Linked DNA regions of Homo sapiens: all the other regions are linked to region 1. The links are contacts of gene promoters, found by promoter capture Hi-C in human tissues and cell types (Jung and others, 2019). All regions are on one chromosome and are shown on one strand. The core of a region is centred on a gene start or on the middle of the fragment in contact, and the rest is flanking DNA. Distances in the headings are between cores, read along the strand shown.

The links. Contacts are between HindIII fragments. The study calls those that stand out against the background at their distance.
Region 2: a fragment that was not itself captured here is called in contact with the fragment with the promoter of MICU3 in region 1 in 1 of the 25 tissues and cell types used here (dorsolateral prefrontal cortex).
Region 3: a contact is called between a fragment that was not itself captured here and the fragment with the promoter of MICU3 in region 1, in 1 of the 25 tissues and cell types used here (mesenchymal stem cells).
Region 4: a contact is called between a fragment that was not itself captured here and the fragment with the promoter of MICU3 in region 1, in 1 of the 25 tissues and cell types used here (dorsolateral prefrontal cortex).
Region 5: a contact is called between a fragment that was not itself captured here and the fragment with the promoter of MICU3 in region 1, in 1 of the 25 tissues and cell types used here (H1 embryonic stem cells).

Annotation. Positions count from the first base shown.
Region 1 is chr8:17,025,701-17,028,596 of GRCh38, forward strand. It overlaps MICU3 (mitochondrial calcium uptake family member 3), which reads left to right and starts at 1,538. Exons shown (of 15, transcript NM_181723.3): 1 at 1,538-1,960. The coding sequence starts at 1,580. RefSeq lists a silencer at 1,516-1,925 and an enhancer at 2,076-2,165. The HindIII fragment of the contact is 10,669 bases long and covers 1-2,896 here.
Region 2 is chr8:16,783,476-16,786,371 of GRCh38, forward strand. All of the region lies in intron 2 of LOC105379297 (a long non-coding RNA gene), which reads right to left. Among named protein-coding and RNA genes, the nearest start is that of FGF20, 220 kb to the right of the region's middle. The HindIII fragment of the contact is 3,801 bases long and covers 1-2,896 here.
Region 3 is chr8:16,800,494-16,803,389 of GRCh38, forward strand. The region is part of intron 2 of LOC105379297 (a long non-coding RNA gene); the gene reads right to left. Among named protein-coding and RNA genes, the nearest start is that of FGF20, 200 kb to the right of the region's middle. The HindIII fragment of the contact is 3,022 bases long and covers 1-2,896 here.
Region 4 is chr8:16,817,925-16,820,820 of GRCh38, forward strand. The region is part of intron 2 of LOC105379297 (a long non-coding RNA gene); the gene reads right to left. Among named protein-coding and RNA genes, the nearest start is that of FGF20, 180 kb to the right of the region's middle. The HindIII fragment of the contact is 3,324 bases long and covers 1-2,896 here.
Region 5 is chr8:17,168,933-17,171,828 of GRCh38, forward strand. All of the region lies in intron 1 of ZDHHC2 (zDHHC palmitoyltransferase 2), which reads left to right. Among named protein-coding and RNA genes, the nearest start is that of ZDHHC2, 14 kb to the left of the region's middle. The HindIII fragment of the contact is 5,308 bases long and covers 1-2,896 here.

The DNA.
Region 1 (2,896 bases), core at 288-2,787:
CTGAAGAAAACTCAGAGACAGGTTTTAAAATACACAAAATTTGTTCATCTGCTACAGAAGATTTTTCTTCTTACCGCTTTTAGCAGCTTTAAGAAAGCAAAATGCCATTAACCTCTATTAAAATAAGAGGTAACAGGGTGTACCTGATGTGCTATTTACATGCAAGGTGTTAGGAATAGAAATTGCAGGACCTCCAGGAGTTCGAGGCCAGCCAGGCCAAGATGGTGAGACCCCCATCTCTACTAAAAACACAAAAATTAGCCAGGCACGGTGGCGGGTGCCTGTAATCCCAGCTACTCGGGAGGCTGAGGCAGGAGAATCGCTTGAACCAGGGAGACGGACGTTGCAGTGAGCCGAGAATGTGCCACTGCACTCTAGCCTGGGCAACAGAGCAAGACTCCGTCTCAAAAAAAGAAAAAAAAAAGGGAAGAAATTGTAGGACCTGAGCCAGAAAAAACTCATTTGGTCGTCTCTGAAAGCCTTTAGTCTTTACAAGAATTGCCAGAATCAACTGATGGTGTATTCTCTTGTCACTGCAGCCCAATTGAGACCACTGTATTTAGTTGTCTGTCCCCTTAGATCCACAATATTTTAGGGACTCCTGGCACCATTCCATAGTAGGAAGAAAAAGCTAACATAATTCAAGTTACCAAAACTGGGGTCTGGGGAGAGAAACTGATAGGAACTTCATCTACACTTTCTCATAAAAACTGATACTGATAACATAGCAAACAAAAAGTACAGTAAAAACAAAAAGATGACACAATACGCTTCTCATTTATTTTATATTTATACAAACAGCGCTTCCCTGAAAAATCAGGGTATCGTTCAAGATTTTATCTTTATTCACAGAAGTTTTAAAATTTTTAACTTTTATATGCACAAGACAGTTCTGATTTGTTGAATTAAGTGACCGCGGGTGTGCTAATGCTTCTAAAAAACAGCATTAGCCTTCTCCCATCAAAAGTCCGGAAGCTGCCCTTCAGTCGTCAAAGTGTTTGCCTTAATTTGCAATCGTTATGACTTGAGCCAAATGCTTATACCTCATTTGTGTCGTATATGTGAAGATACAATTGCAAATCGTTCACGACCTTGAGTCAAGACCTTGAGTTTCCTGAGGTCAGGAGACCGTTAGGGAATGTGAGTGTCCCAGACGGGCGCTGAGCCCAGCTCGGAGACCCACCCCGCCCGTAGCAGCGGCGCGGGCCCCAGAGAGCCCCGCACTCGGCCGCGCCTCAGTTACGCTGACTCGGCTGTGCCCGCAGTGTCGCGCTGTCGCGTAGCCAGGTGTCGCCGGGCTGGCGCGGTTATTTATGACTGCGTGGTTGGGCTGGGGGTTCGGGGCCGGGGAGCAGCCGGGATCCGCCGCCTCTTCCATGATCTTCCCGGGCCGAACCACGGGACCGCTACGCTGAAGGTGGCGTCGCGGGTCCCCGGGGCCGCGCGAGTGTAGGGGTCGCTCTCGGCCGGCCGCGAAGCTCGCGGCACCGACTTCTCGCGAGATTTCGGCGACCCCCCCCCCCGCCCCCGCCCCTCCGTTCTCTGCCCCCTCCCAGCTCTGGTGTGGGCGGCCTCCGCTATGGCTGCGCTGCGAAGGCTCTTGTGGCCGCCACCCCGGGTGTCTCCTCCACTCTGCGCTCACCAGCCCCTCCTTGGGCCGTGGGGGCGGCCTGCGGTGACCACCCTGGGCCTTCCTGGCCGGCCCTTCTCCTCCCGAGAGGATGAGGAGAGGGCTGTGGCGGAGGCGGCATGGAGGCGGCGGCGGCGCTGGGGGGAGCTGAGCGTGGCGGCGGCGGCCGGCGGGGGGCTGGTCGGCCTGGTATGCTACCAGCTGTACGGGGACCCCAGGGCCGGCTCGCCGGCGACCGGGCGACCCTCAAAGAGCGCGGCCACGGAGCCCGAGGACCCGCCCCGCGGCCGGGGGATGCTGCCCATCCCAGTGGCGGCTGCCAAGGAGACGGTGAGTGCGCGAGCGCGCGTCACACCTGCGCGGGGGATGTGACCTTCGTGCCGGGTACGCAGGACCCTGGAGGCTGTGGGGACGGTGCAAGCGCTGTGGCCGCGGGTGAGGAACTTCCCGTGAGCGAGGCTGACACCTAGGCCGGACAGCCTAGGATCCGGTCACCCACGTATTGGGAAGACCAGTGATGCTGTCCCTGATGCATCAGGACCTTAAAGGTGGCTGCAGCTACCAAGTATCAATCCAAACCCAAAACCAACACCCCTCCCCCTCTTACAAAAAAAGATTCAGAAATGAAGGCCATGACAGGCAGAAAGTGGACCGCTGTAGGTGTGGGAAAAAGGAACTCCTAGATTGCGCGGGGCGACAGCTAATGACCCAGGAGGTCTGTTGCATTAGAATGAGTTTCGAAGCAGCGGTCTGAGATCTCAAAAGCCACTACTTTAGCATATGAGAATTTATTAGTCCCAAGAAAGGAAATGCTAAACCTGCATGCTAACGCCCTTATCATACCCAGGGAATGTTGATGTTACCAGGTCTGAAAAGAAATAAAAAATTGTTCAAAAAGAGACATAAGTATTTCTCTCTTTTTCCTTCCCCCACTAAAGCCAGAATCCCGTTAGTAGGTAACGATAAAACACAAAATGGATAGGATAGCAAATGTAGGAGGCTGTGAATGACACAAACTCCTACAGAAGAAAGTCACGTGAAAATGTTCAACTGTCATTATGTAGTTAATAATACAAGGTAAAGATGTGTGAAAGGCAACAGTGAGTAAAGGAGCGTGATTTTTTTTGTCGCATCAGTATATTTAATAGTCATGTAAATGACTAGGAAAATTAAGGAGATTTTCCTTGCAAGGCTCGAAGAATGTGAACGGCGTAGATGAAAATAATTTAGAAAACAGAGAGCTATGCTGTTTCTAATGCAATTTTT
Region 2 (2,896 bases), core at 215-2,714, 240 kb before region 1:
TAATATCAGATTAATACAGTGGTTATGATAGCAGGCTTGATTAAGAAGGTTACCTTGATTACGATCCAAACTCAACCACTTACTAGCTGTGTAAATCTGGAAAAGTTGTGTAAATCTCTTTGCCTCAGTTTCCCGATATAAAATAATTATAATAGAACCTACCTCAAAAGGGTGTTGTAAAGATTAAATGTTAATGCATCTAAAGTACCTAATACGTACCTAACTCATAGTAAGTACTCAATACATGATAGTGAGAGGTGACAGCGTGCTGGCAGTCCTCAGAGCCCTCACTTGCTCTTGGCACCTCCTCTGCCTGGGCTCCCACTTTGGCAGCATTTGAGGAGCCCTTCAGCCCCCCACTGCACTGTGGGAGCCCCTTTCTGGGCTGGCCAAAGCCGGAGCCCACTCCCTCAGCTTGCAGGGAGGTGTGGAGGGAGGCACGAGCGGGAACCGGGGCTGCGTGCGGCGCTTGCGGGCCAGCTGGAGTTCCGGGTGGGCGTGGGCTTGGTGGGCCCCGCACTCGGAGCAGCCAGCCAGCCCTGCTGGCCCCAGGCAATGGGGGACTTAGCACCCGGGCCAGTAGCTGCGGAGGGTGTACTGTGTCCCCCAGCAGTGCCAGCCCACCGGCGCTGCGCTCGATTTCTCGCCGGGCCTTAGCTGCCTTCCCGCGGGGCAGGGCTCGGGACCTGCAGCCCGCCATGCCTGAGCCTCCCACCCACTCCATGGGCTCCTGTGCGGCCCGAGCCTCCCCGACGAGCACCACCCCCTGCTCCACGGCGCCCAGTCCCATCGACCAACCAAGGGCTGAGGAATGCCAGCGCAGGGTGCAGGACTGGCAGGCAGCTCCACCTGCAGCCCCGGTGTGGGATCCACTAGGTGAAGCCAGCTGGGCTCCTGAGTCTGGTGGGGACGTAGAGAGTCTTTATATCTAGCTCAGGGATTGTAAACACACCAATCAGCACCTGTGTTTAGCTCAAGGTTTGTGAGTGCACCAATCGACTCTGTATCTAGCTGCTCTGGTGAGGACGTGGAGAACCTTTATGTCTAGCTCAACGATTGTAAATACACCAATCGGCACTCTGTATCTAGCTCAAGGTTTGTAAACACACCAGTCAGCACCCTGTGTTTAGCTCAAGGTTTGTAAATGCACCAATCGACAATCTGTATCTAGCTGCTCTGGTGGGGCCTTGGAAAACCTGTGTGTCAAAACTCTGTATCTAACTAATCTGATGGGGAAGTGGAGAACCTTTGTATCTAGCTCAGGGATTATAAACGCACCAATCAGCACCCTGACAAAACAGGCCACTCGGCTCTACCAATCAGCAGGATGTGGGTGGGGCCAGATAAGAGAATAAAAGCAGGCTGCCGGAGCTAGCATCGGCAACTGGTTCAGGTGGTCTTCCACACTGTGGAAGCTTTGTTCGTTCACTCTTTACAATAAATCTTGCTACTGCTCACTCTTTGGGTCCACGCTGCTTTTATGAGCTGTAACACTCACCGCGAAGATCTGCAGCTTCACTCCTGAGGCCAGCGAGATCAGGAGCCCAGCAGGAAGAACAAACAACTCCAGACGCGCTGCCTTAAGAGCTGTAACACTCACCGCGAAGGTCTGCAGCTTCACTACTGAGCCAGCGAGACCACGAACCCACCAGAAGGAAAAAACTCCAAACACATCTGAACCTCAGAAGGGACAGACTCCAGACGCGCCACCTTAAGGGCTGTAACACTCACCGCCAGGGTCCGCGGCTTCATTCTTGAAGTCAGTGAGACCAAGAACCCACCAATTCAGGACACAATAGCAACCTGTGTAACTCTTCTCTCGGGCCATTCACTATAGTTGAGCTAAATTTCTCTTTGTCAAGCAGGAAATGCACTGTTTTCCTAAACTGTTTTTTGAAGCCCACTCGTCCCTGAAGTCCAGCAAAAAGGAATTCTCTTCTTCATTTAATTTTCGGAAACACTATATTTGCCTTGGAAACTCAAAATGCACTGAAATATATTAAGGACTTTGATATATTTGTAATTTAAAAATCTGTTTCATTTTGTTTAACATGATGAATCCCAAATATACAAGATCTCTTGACCCTTGAGTTTAACAGTCACTTACTCATTTTTATTATTTCATCTGTGTACGTTTCGTTTTAAGGTCTTCATTTTCTTGAAATGAGATCATTTCATCTTTCTTTTTTTTTTTTTTGAGACAAAATCTCACTCTGTCGCTGAGGCTGGAGTGCAGTGGCACAATCTCGGCTCACTGCAACCTCTGCCTCCTGGATTCAAATGATTCTCCTGCCTCAGCCTCCCCAGTAGCTGGGACTACAGGTGCCTACCACCATGCCCATCTAATTTTTGTATTTTTATTAGAGACAGGGTTTCACCATATTGGCCAGGTTGGCCTTGAACTCCTGACCTTGTGAGCTACCCACCTTGGCTCCACAAAGTGCTGGGATTACAGGTGTGAGCCACCGTGCCCAGCCAAGACCATTTCATTTTTCTTTAACATACATGGGACAGCAAACTATGGAAAGCACGTAGGTATCCTGAGATGAAGAGATCATTCTGGACTATCCGAGTGGGCCCCTAAAGCCAATCACAACTGTCCTTATAAGAGAAAGGTAGGGGGAGATTTGAGACACAGAAGAGGAGAAGACACCGTACAGGAGAAGGCAATGTGGTCACAGAGGCAGAAATGGGAGGGATGTGGCCACAAGGCAAGGAATACTGGCAGCCACCAGAAGCCAGAAGGGGCAAAGAATGAATTCTCCCCTAAAGCAGGGGTCCCCAGCCTGTTACGTCTGCAGCCTGTTACGAACTGGGCTACACAACAGGAAATGAGAGATGGGTAAGCAAGCAAAGCTTCATCTGTATTTACAGCCACTTCCCATTGCTTGCATTA
Region 3 (2,896 bases), core at 172-2,671, 230 kb before region 1:
GATGAAGTATGTGTAATAGCAAAGAAAAATGACATGAAACCAGTGAATAAATGAAAATAATTATAATAAATGGATAAGTAAATAAAATATATACATATATTAGTGGCTACCCAGAAAATTACCTGTCAAAATAAAGTTTATTTTCTTTAAGGAAGAAAGAACATTTCTTTTTCAAACAGAAATTAGCTATGAATCTTTCACACTCAGATTCTAAGTAATTGTCCCTTACTCTTTAAGTTCAATATCCTTGATAGATACAAGAAGGAAAGAGTTAAAATTCATAGAGAATTACTTTATAAACTGATTGCAAAAGAGGTCACAAGCAACAGATGTGAGAAGATAAAAGCACTTCAGGTGTTGAGCTGCCCTTTGATGCAAGCAGGCCAAATTCAAGTGGCTCTAAAAGTATTAATTTAGGGCCGGGTGTGGTGGCTCACACCTGTAATCCCAGCACTTTGGGAGGCTCACAGGGGAGGATTGGTTGAGCTTAAAAGTTCAAAACCAGCCTGGGCAACATAGTGAGACTTCATCTCTACAGGAAAATTTTTTAATTCGCTGGGCATCGGGTGTGCACCTGTGGTCCCTGTTACTTGGGGGACTGGGGCAGGAGGATCACTTAAACCCAGGAAGTCAAGGCTGCAGTGATCTGTGATTGCACCACTGCACCCTAGCTTGGGAGACAAAGTGAGACTCTGTCTCAAAGTAAATGAATAAATAAACTTGTTAATTCAGGTTCAATTATGCATAGAAGAGCATAATTCTTGTTAAACCTACCAATAAGAAGAAAATGACATGGTTAGGGCCTATTGTTAGAGAAAACTCCTTGTATGTACCCATTTATTTTATAGGACATTTTACCCTGTGCCTCATTAGGGCATTGAAAAGTAGAGTATGTGAGGTGATGCATATATTAAACAAAAAATAAAGAAATATAGTATATTCAGGGGAAGATTTTGAGGCTAATGGGTATCCAGAAATCATCTCCTACAAGGAATGGAGAGAGAATCAAATGTATGAATGTGTCTGCCAGGTATTGAACGAACTCAGGGAAACTTTCAGTATTCTCTAAACAATGCATATCTAGCTCCTCTCATCAGTGTGGTTCTCAGCTTTTAGTTTGCATGAGAATTACCTAGAGATTTTATTTAAAATATAGACAACCAACACAGTAAGTACATGCACCATCTCATTCGAGATGATTCTTATAGCACCTTTATTTATAATTTTTAGCTAGATGCTAATTAACTTGCCCCAAGTTATCACTGAATTAATCACTAAACTAATAAAAGAAAAACGTATTCTTCTCTCTGTCCAAAATCTGTGCTCTTAGACTCAACTCTACACGGTCTCATTACTAATAAATCAGAAAACAATACTAAAGTGTCAGGTTTCTTAGTACATAGTAACTACCAAAAACTGGCCAGCTTTTAAAATATGACAGTAGCTAAGTTAGAAAGAATTGCACAAAAGTATCTGAAAAACCATTGAAAAGAACAGTTTTCCAATATTCGCCACATTATGCCCCAAAGGCACAACAGGAAATTGAAATTTGGCATCAGGCCAGCTTTAAAGCTTTCATCATTTTAATCTTGAAAGATTATGATTCCAGCTTTAAGAAGCTTATGTGATTTATCTTCATAGGCCAAACCAAAAAGTCCGCAGTCATTTGGAAATAGGCCCTGCCATTGTGTTCAGTGACATCTTATATTGTCAGGAAGTGATCAAGTATGCAATTATTTTGTGTAATCCTTGCATTCCTGTTAGTATAAGCTAGAGAAAAGAAAAAAAAATTGATGATCATGTTCCTTAGTGTGAAACTGCACAAAATGCTGTCCCATTGCTGATCCCTTCTTTCCACTAAGAAATAATTATGCCACTGCGGTAGCTACAACTAAGGTACAACGAGAAAATAATTTTCTTGAAATGAACAGGAAGCTTGAGATGGAAACACATTTTCATTACTTTTCCATTTTACTTCACCAGGATTCAATTTTTCCTTGAAATAGTATCTACTTATAAAACTAACATAAAGACACAACTACTGCTAAGATATTCATTTATAGATATTGGGAAAAAGAGTGAAACTAGTTTCACTGTCCCTGTTTTGTTAGTGGCTGTAGTGACCATTAATTTTGTCCCTCTTGCTAACTGACCTTGACCAGCTAATAAAAAATTTCAGCATTTGAAAGAAAAAAAGCACATTTCTTCATTTCTTCTTTTGTATTCAATTATATTTCACTTGTATGCTTGGTATTTTTCTAAAAAGCCAAATCAAGAAAAATTCAGTAGGACTGTATCATCTAAACAAAGATTAAAAATTTTAGCACCCAAATACATGATGTAATTTACATTTGATTATTGCTTATATCATATCCCAGCTGAAATACTAAGAGATTTCTAGTCTTTAAGTCTTTTGCATGGCAAAGACAGAGAGTAGATTCTTGATAATTTCCAATCCTGCAGCCTCCTTGGTTAAGGACATAGAGGGTATATTAGTCAGAGTTCTCCAAATAACCAAAAAAAAAAAAAAAAAATGAATGAGACATGAAAGTAGAGAAAGATTTTAAGGAATTGGTTCACACAATTGTAGGGGCTAGCAAGTCCAAAGTCTGCAAGGCAGGCCAGCACTCTGGACACCCAGGAAAGAATTGATGTTGCAATCTGAAAGCACAATTTCTCTTCCTCAGGGGCCTCAGTCTTTTCTCCCAAGGCCTTCAACTGATTGGATGAAGCTCACTCCCATTACAGAGGGACATCTGCTTTGCTCAAAATCTACTGATTTAAATTTTGAAAAGATTTTCACAGAGACATGTAGACTGGTGTTTGACCAAATATGTACATACCATGGCATAGCCAAGATAACACAAAATTAACCATCACAGGAGGCCTTGGAAGA
Region 4 (2,896 bases), core at 265-2,764, 210 kb before region 1:
CAAAAAGTAAGTTCAGAAAATACAAGAGATAGCAGATGTACCTGCACTTGAAAGCTTCAGCAAAACCCAACTTCTAAAGGTGAGTCCAATATTTTGGAAATAAAGAATGTGAAGAGATCTGAAAAGCTCAGAGCTGGGGATAGAAACTCTTCTGTATTCATGTAAGGTCTGAAAGCCAGAGAAAAAGTGAGAACAGAGAGGGGCCATTTATTAAGACCTTTGCTGAAATAGAGAAGGGAGCACCAGGATATTCACTCTGACGCACTTTCATTTCACCCCCAAAATATCCACACTGCCAGAACCACCTGCTGCCAGGTGGGAAAATTCACCTTATTCAAATATAGATAGAATAAGAGGAACATATTCTGCCTCCATACGAAGATTTTGGGTAAGTATCCATTAGTTCAATTTTTTTCTGTATTACTCACATCTCCTGTATCCTTACCGATTTTTTATCTGATATTTTATTTATTGAGAGAGTTTTGTCAAACTCAGTAAGAAAGTGATGAAAAAGAATGGTGTAACTTTCCTGCAGATAATAAAAACTCACTGGAGAAAACATTTTCAAAAAGTTAATGAAAAAATGTAACAACATTCCGAACATAAACAGAAAAGAATGAAAGAAAAAAAACTTCATTTGCTTAAGAATAAAGATAATGGAACAGACATAAGAATTCTATTGAGTAAAATAAAAAACATTAACAGAAATAAAACGAATCCCAAATAAACAGAGATATGTACCTTGTTCATAGATGGGAAAACTCAGAGAGGCAAATTATCCCAAATGGATCTACAGATCCAATAAAATCCCAATAAAAATTTCAACAGATTTTTTTTGTGGAAATTGGCAGGTGGACTCTAAAATTTACATGGAAATACAAGTGGCCAAGAATAGCTAAGACCCTCTTGAAAAATCAACAAGGCTAAAGGACTTACACTGTCAGGTATCAAAATAAATTATGAAGCATTAATTATTAAAATAGTTATTATCGACTCAAAGGTAGATAAATAACCCAGTGGAACAGAATGAAGTCTTCAGAAGCAGTCCCAGACAAGCTATTTGTTAAGTTAACTTTGCAATTGAGTGGGGGAATAAATGGTCTTTTCAATAAATATGGCAGGTCAATTGTATAGGCATATAGAAAAAAATAATATTTACCCATAGGTCACTAAAATATGTTGCAAAAATGGCCACAAATCCCTCCCATTCCTCTATGCATACCCTTTTGTGGCATAATTTCGCCTTTTCTCATATCAGAAGTGAAGTCTATTTATCCTCTTAAATCTAGGCAGGGATACGTGACTTCTTTAGCCAAAGGGACAATATGAAATGTGACATACGCAGGGCTGTGAAAAGCGCTCATGCATTAGGACTTGCCCTCTTGTTGCTGGAAACCCTGAGACCATCATCTGATGATCCTGGACCAGCCTATTGACATAGCATGAGAGACCATGTGGGAGAGATGCCAGCCAACCCAGCCATCCCAGCCACTCGCAGAATTGTGAGCTAAATGAAATAGCTGTTTTAAGCTACTATGTTTTGGGGTGGTTTGTTCCACAGTAAAAGCTAATTGCTGCAGTTCTACCACAAAAATTCCAGATGGATTGTAGATCTAAACGTGAACAGTAAATGACAAAAGCTTCTACAACAGTGCTGTCCAATAGAAATGTTCCCTATTTGCAATGCCCAGTAGGGTTGCCACCAAGCCACTTGTAACTACTGAGTACTGAAAACATGACTAGCACAAATGAGGAAATGAATTTTCAATTTATTGTAATTTATATTTAAGCTTAAATAGCTACACTAGGCTACTGGGTACAGTATTGAACAGTGCAGTTCTAGAAAATAACACAAGAAAATTATTCAGGAACTTTGGATTAAAAAATATATAAACAGGGGAAGAAGTACTGATCATATTGGAAAACAATGATTAACTAACCCACATAAAAACTAAAGATTTTTGTTTGTCAATAGACATCATTAAGTATTTGAAGAGATAAACGATAATTTGGAAAAATAAAATTAAAACATATTTCTGACAAAGGAGTCATATCCAGAATACATTAGGAATTCCCAAAAAATAAATTAAATAAGTACACCTAAAAACCCAGCAATTCTATTCCTAGGTAAATAGATATGTGTACATTATGTACATCAAAAGACATGTCTAAGAATATTCACAGCAGCAGTATTTTTAAGTAGCTACAACTAGAATAACCCAAATATTCACCAACAGTAGAATAAAATAGAATATTTGCAAAATAAAATATGAAAGAGTATATTACATGGTATACATATATATGGTTACATAAAAATGGATGAAATCTCACAACATTGAGCAAAAGAAGTCACGTGTATTTGTTTACCTATTTTATTTTTCCATTTGTATGAAGTTTAAAAACTTTGGACATAATCATTAAATTTAGTTGTGAAAGATGGCTCAATATTAAGAGATTCAGTAAGTTATCTTAATAAAGTTATTCTGTTCATGATCTAAAAAGAAAAACCTATAATCATCTCCATGGATATTGAAAAGTTATTTAATCAATTCAACTCTATTCTTAATTTTTAAAATATGTAATAAAAGTCATTCAGTAGGCACTTCCTTAATATGTGTGCTGGAAACCCTTTTTGGTTCCTTAATCCTGCCTACATTGTTATAAATGTTTTCTCTTCATTAAACTCTTGTTAGTTACTTAATTTCATTGTACTGTTTGTGGCAAAGATGTTACCTGGTACATGATTGTAGGTTAGAAAGCCCAAACACTAGCATCTTTCCTAACCAAGAGACACAAGAAGAACAAGACTAAGGATGGCCACTATCAACTCTCCTATTTAACTTTGTATTAAAAGTATTCAGCTAAACAACTGGGCAAGAGAAAAAAAGCTAGTGCT
Region 5 (2,896 bases), core at 120-2,619, 140 kb after region 1:
TGGGGGTTTGAGTTGTTTCTACCTTTTTGGCTATTCTGAATAATGCTGCTGTGAACAGTATACAGAAATACCTGTTTGAGTCCCTGCTTTAAATTCTTTTGGTAGATACCTAAGAGTGGAATTGGTCAGTCATATGGTAATTCTGTGTTTAATTTTTTGAGGACACCATACGGTTTTTCTGGAGCAGGTGATTTTTGATGCAGGTGTCACCCAGAGAAGCCTGTATATGCCCTTGTAAACATGTCCAAATTTGAAGGTCTCTAGAGGTATCCATGAGATGTATCAGTGTCACTGCAGCAATTTTTTTTTTTTTTTTTTTTACCATCTTGCCATTTCATGGTTCAGCAGAAAAGCTGATGGGCAGGGGATTGTGAAGAATCCCATGTTGCCCATATGGTGGCCTTCATTACTGGGTAGTGTGTTCCTTATGAGAGTGCTGGTCATCGGGCATGCCCAGGGCAGAAAACTCGAGGGCCTCTAGCTTACTGCATATAGGCAGGAATTCAACAACAGTTTTTGAGTAGCCAGAGTCCAGAGCACAGAAATGACAGATGGAAATTAAATCTTGAAAGAACATATTAGCAGATGGAAATGGTACGCAAACTGATAAAGAGGAGTGGGTGGGAAGGAGGGGAAGTATGCCGTGAATGCATCGTGAATACATGTGAGTGCATGGTGTCAATCATGAACTCGATTCTGATCCGCAGCACAGGGACTGAACATGATTTATAAATGAAGAGCAAGGTTTCTGTTTTGCCCAAAGATCCAGAGTAAGTGAAATGATTTTAGTAAGAGAAAGCATAAATCCATACATAAAATGAGGGGAGAGATACAGGCGGGAAACCTGAGATGCAGTTTACACATGGAGCAGAGGAAGAGACTCATTCCAAATATTGATGACTGGATTCTTCAATTCCTTGCATAATTTTTTTTTAGAACTTCTCACTTACATTAATGAATACATCTAGTATATAAACAGGTGGTACTTGTATAATATTACACTATTACAATATGTTGTGTCTTTAGGCAGTAGTCATGGAAATCTTTCAACTGTGGGTGGCCAGATAATGACAATGTCAGATTTATTTTGGTTGTGACTGAATACACATACTGTTTCAGCAATTGCTGTCAGAGAGATTGGGCTAGTGCTGTAGGTGAATGCAGTGTTGGGCGAGAGTATGATTTGCTGCAAGTAAGAAGAGAAAGGCATTGTATAATTCCAGCTGGGATCAAGAAAGATTGTGTATGTTTACTTTATGAATATATGACAGTGAAGTTACAGAAGAAAATAGTGCTTCTCAGTGACCCAATACTGAAGGGTGAGCTAGTGAATAGCTGGATACTCTCGAATGTTTTAATAGATATTGTGACCCAGTGCTATCGTGCAGCAATTACTGCTGGTGCTAGTGTTGGTTTAAATATTTGATTTCATCTCTTCCGGTGTGCCACTGTAAATTTTATTCCAATGAGCTCATAAACACAAATGTAGGAATTACATCCTTATATAGTTTCTTTCTCTGGAGAGTTGTAAAGTACTCATAAGTGTCAAATAATTTTATGAACCTAGAAATAATTGGATTAATTTTTAAATGTGTTACGTGTGCCTGTACTCTGGTCATATAGTACTCAACATATAGCTGCTAACCCTGCTAGATGGTTTTAGAACGTTGCCTGTTTCCTTGGAGATGCAGAAAAGATGCATTGGTTTTTCTCCTTAATAAATCAAACAGCTAATAACGTTTGGTCATGAAAAATAAGGAACTCTCAGCATTGTCCTTTATGATAATTCTGAGTATACCAGATAATAAGAAACTGATGTAAGGACATTAAAAAATACTCTACAAAAATTGTTTCAACTTGATTGTATATATTTTTTAAATGATGAAATAACCAATATACATGTGGGACGTTTTGCATGCTACCAATAAATAAATACATCCACACATATATAAGAAAGTTGAGTGTTACATTGGGCAAAATAATCATTGAGGCACTTCCAATTCTAAAATTTTGGTTCTGACTAATAAGGGGAGTATTTCAGGACATAAATCCCTAGTTGACATTCCCCTGGGTGGTAAATAGCCATTATGTGGAAAGCAGGCAGATCGTTGTTGAGGGTGTAGTATCCACCATAGACTTACATGGTTCTACTGAGTCAGTCATGGCCTCTGTGGTCTTTCCTCAAGAAGGGAATCTGGAATTGGAAAGGAGGGGGGTGGGGCTGAAACAATTCAGTGGTTGTAGGAACTTGGAGTTGAGTTGTAGCCATGTGTAGAAAAGGAAACACCCATACAACTCTATCTAAACAGGAGAAGTAAACTTACAGCTGCCCTCAAATCTGCACAACTTGCTGGCACTAGGAGCCTCTTCTATTTTAATTTGAGACAGGGATTATAGGATTCCATTGAGTAAGCTTTGAAATGAGGACACTAAGATCAGGGGGCCAGCCCTGAGATCAGATTTCCTTATTTATCTACATTGCTTAGTGCAGTCAGTGATTCAGAAATGGTCCTTCCCTTTGCCAAGATGAAAGTGGCAGTGAGTTTTTCATGGCCATCATTATGAGGTGACGTCTTTATTCCTTTTTCAGAACTGATAGATTGAAAGACCGACACATTCCTAATGATTTAAATACAAACATTCCGTGAATGTTTACCCAGCCTTCAATTAGATAAGTTAGATTTTACACCATCTGTTTCTGTCGAGTAGAGCTGCTTAGCTATTTAGAGCAATGATTTGGTCATCAAATTGCTACAGAAATGATGTTGAATTCCGCCACGTGTGACAACATGGATGAACCTGGAAGACATTGGGCTACATGAGAAAAAGCCAGTCACAGAAGGACAGATACTGCCTTCTTCTGCTTGTATGAGGTGTAATGCCCAACCTTGTTTTT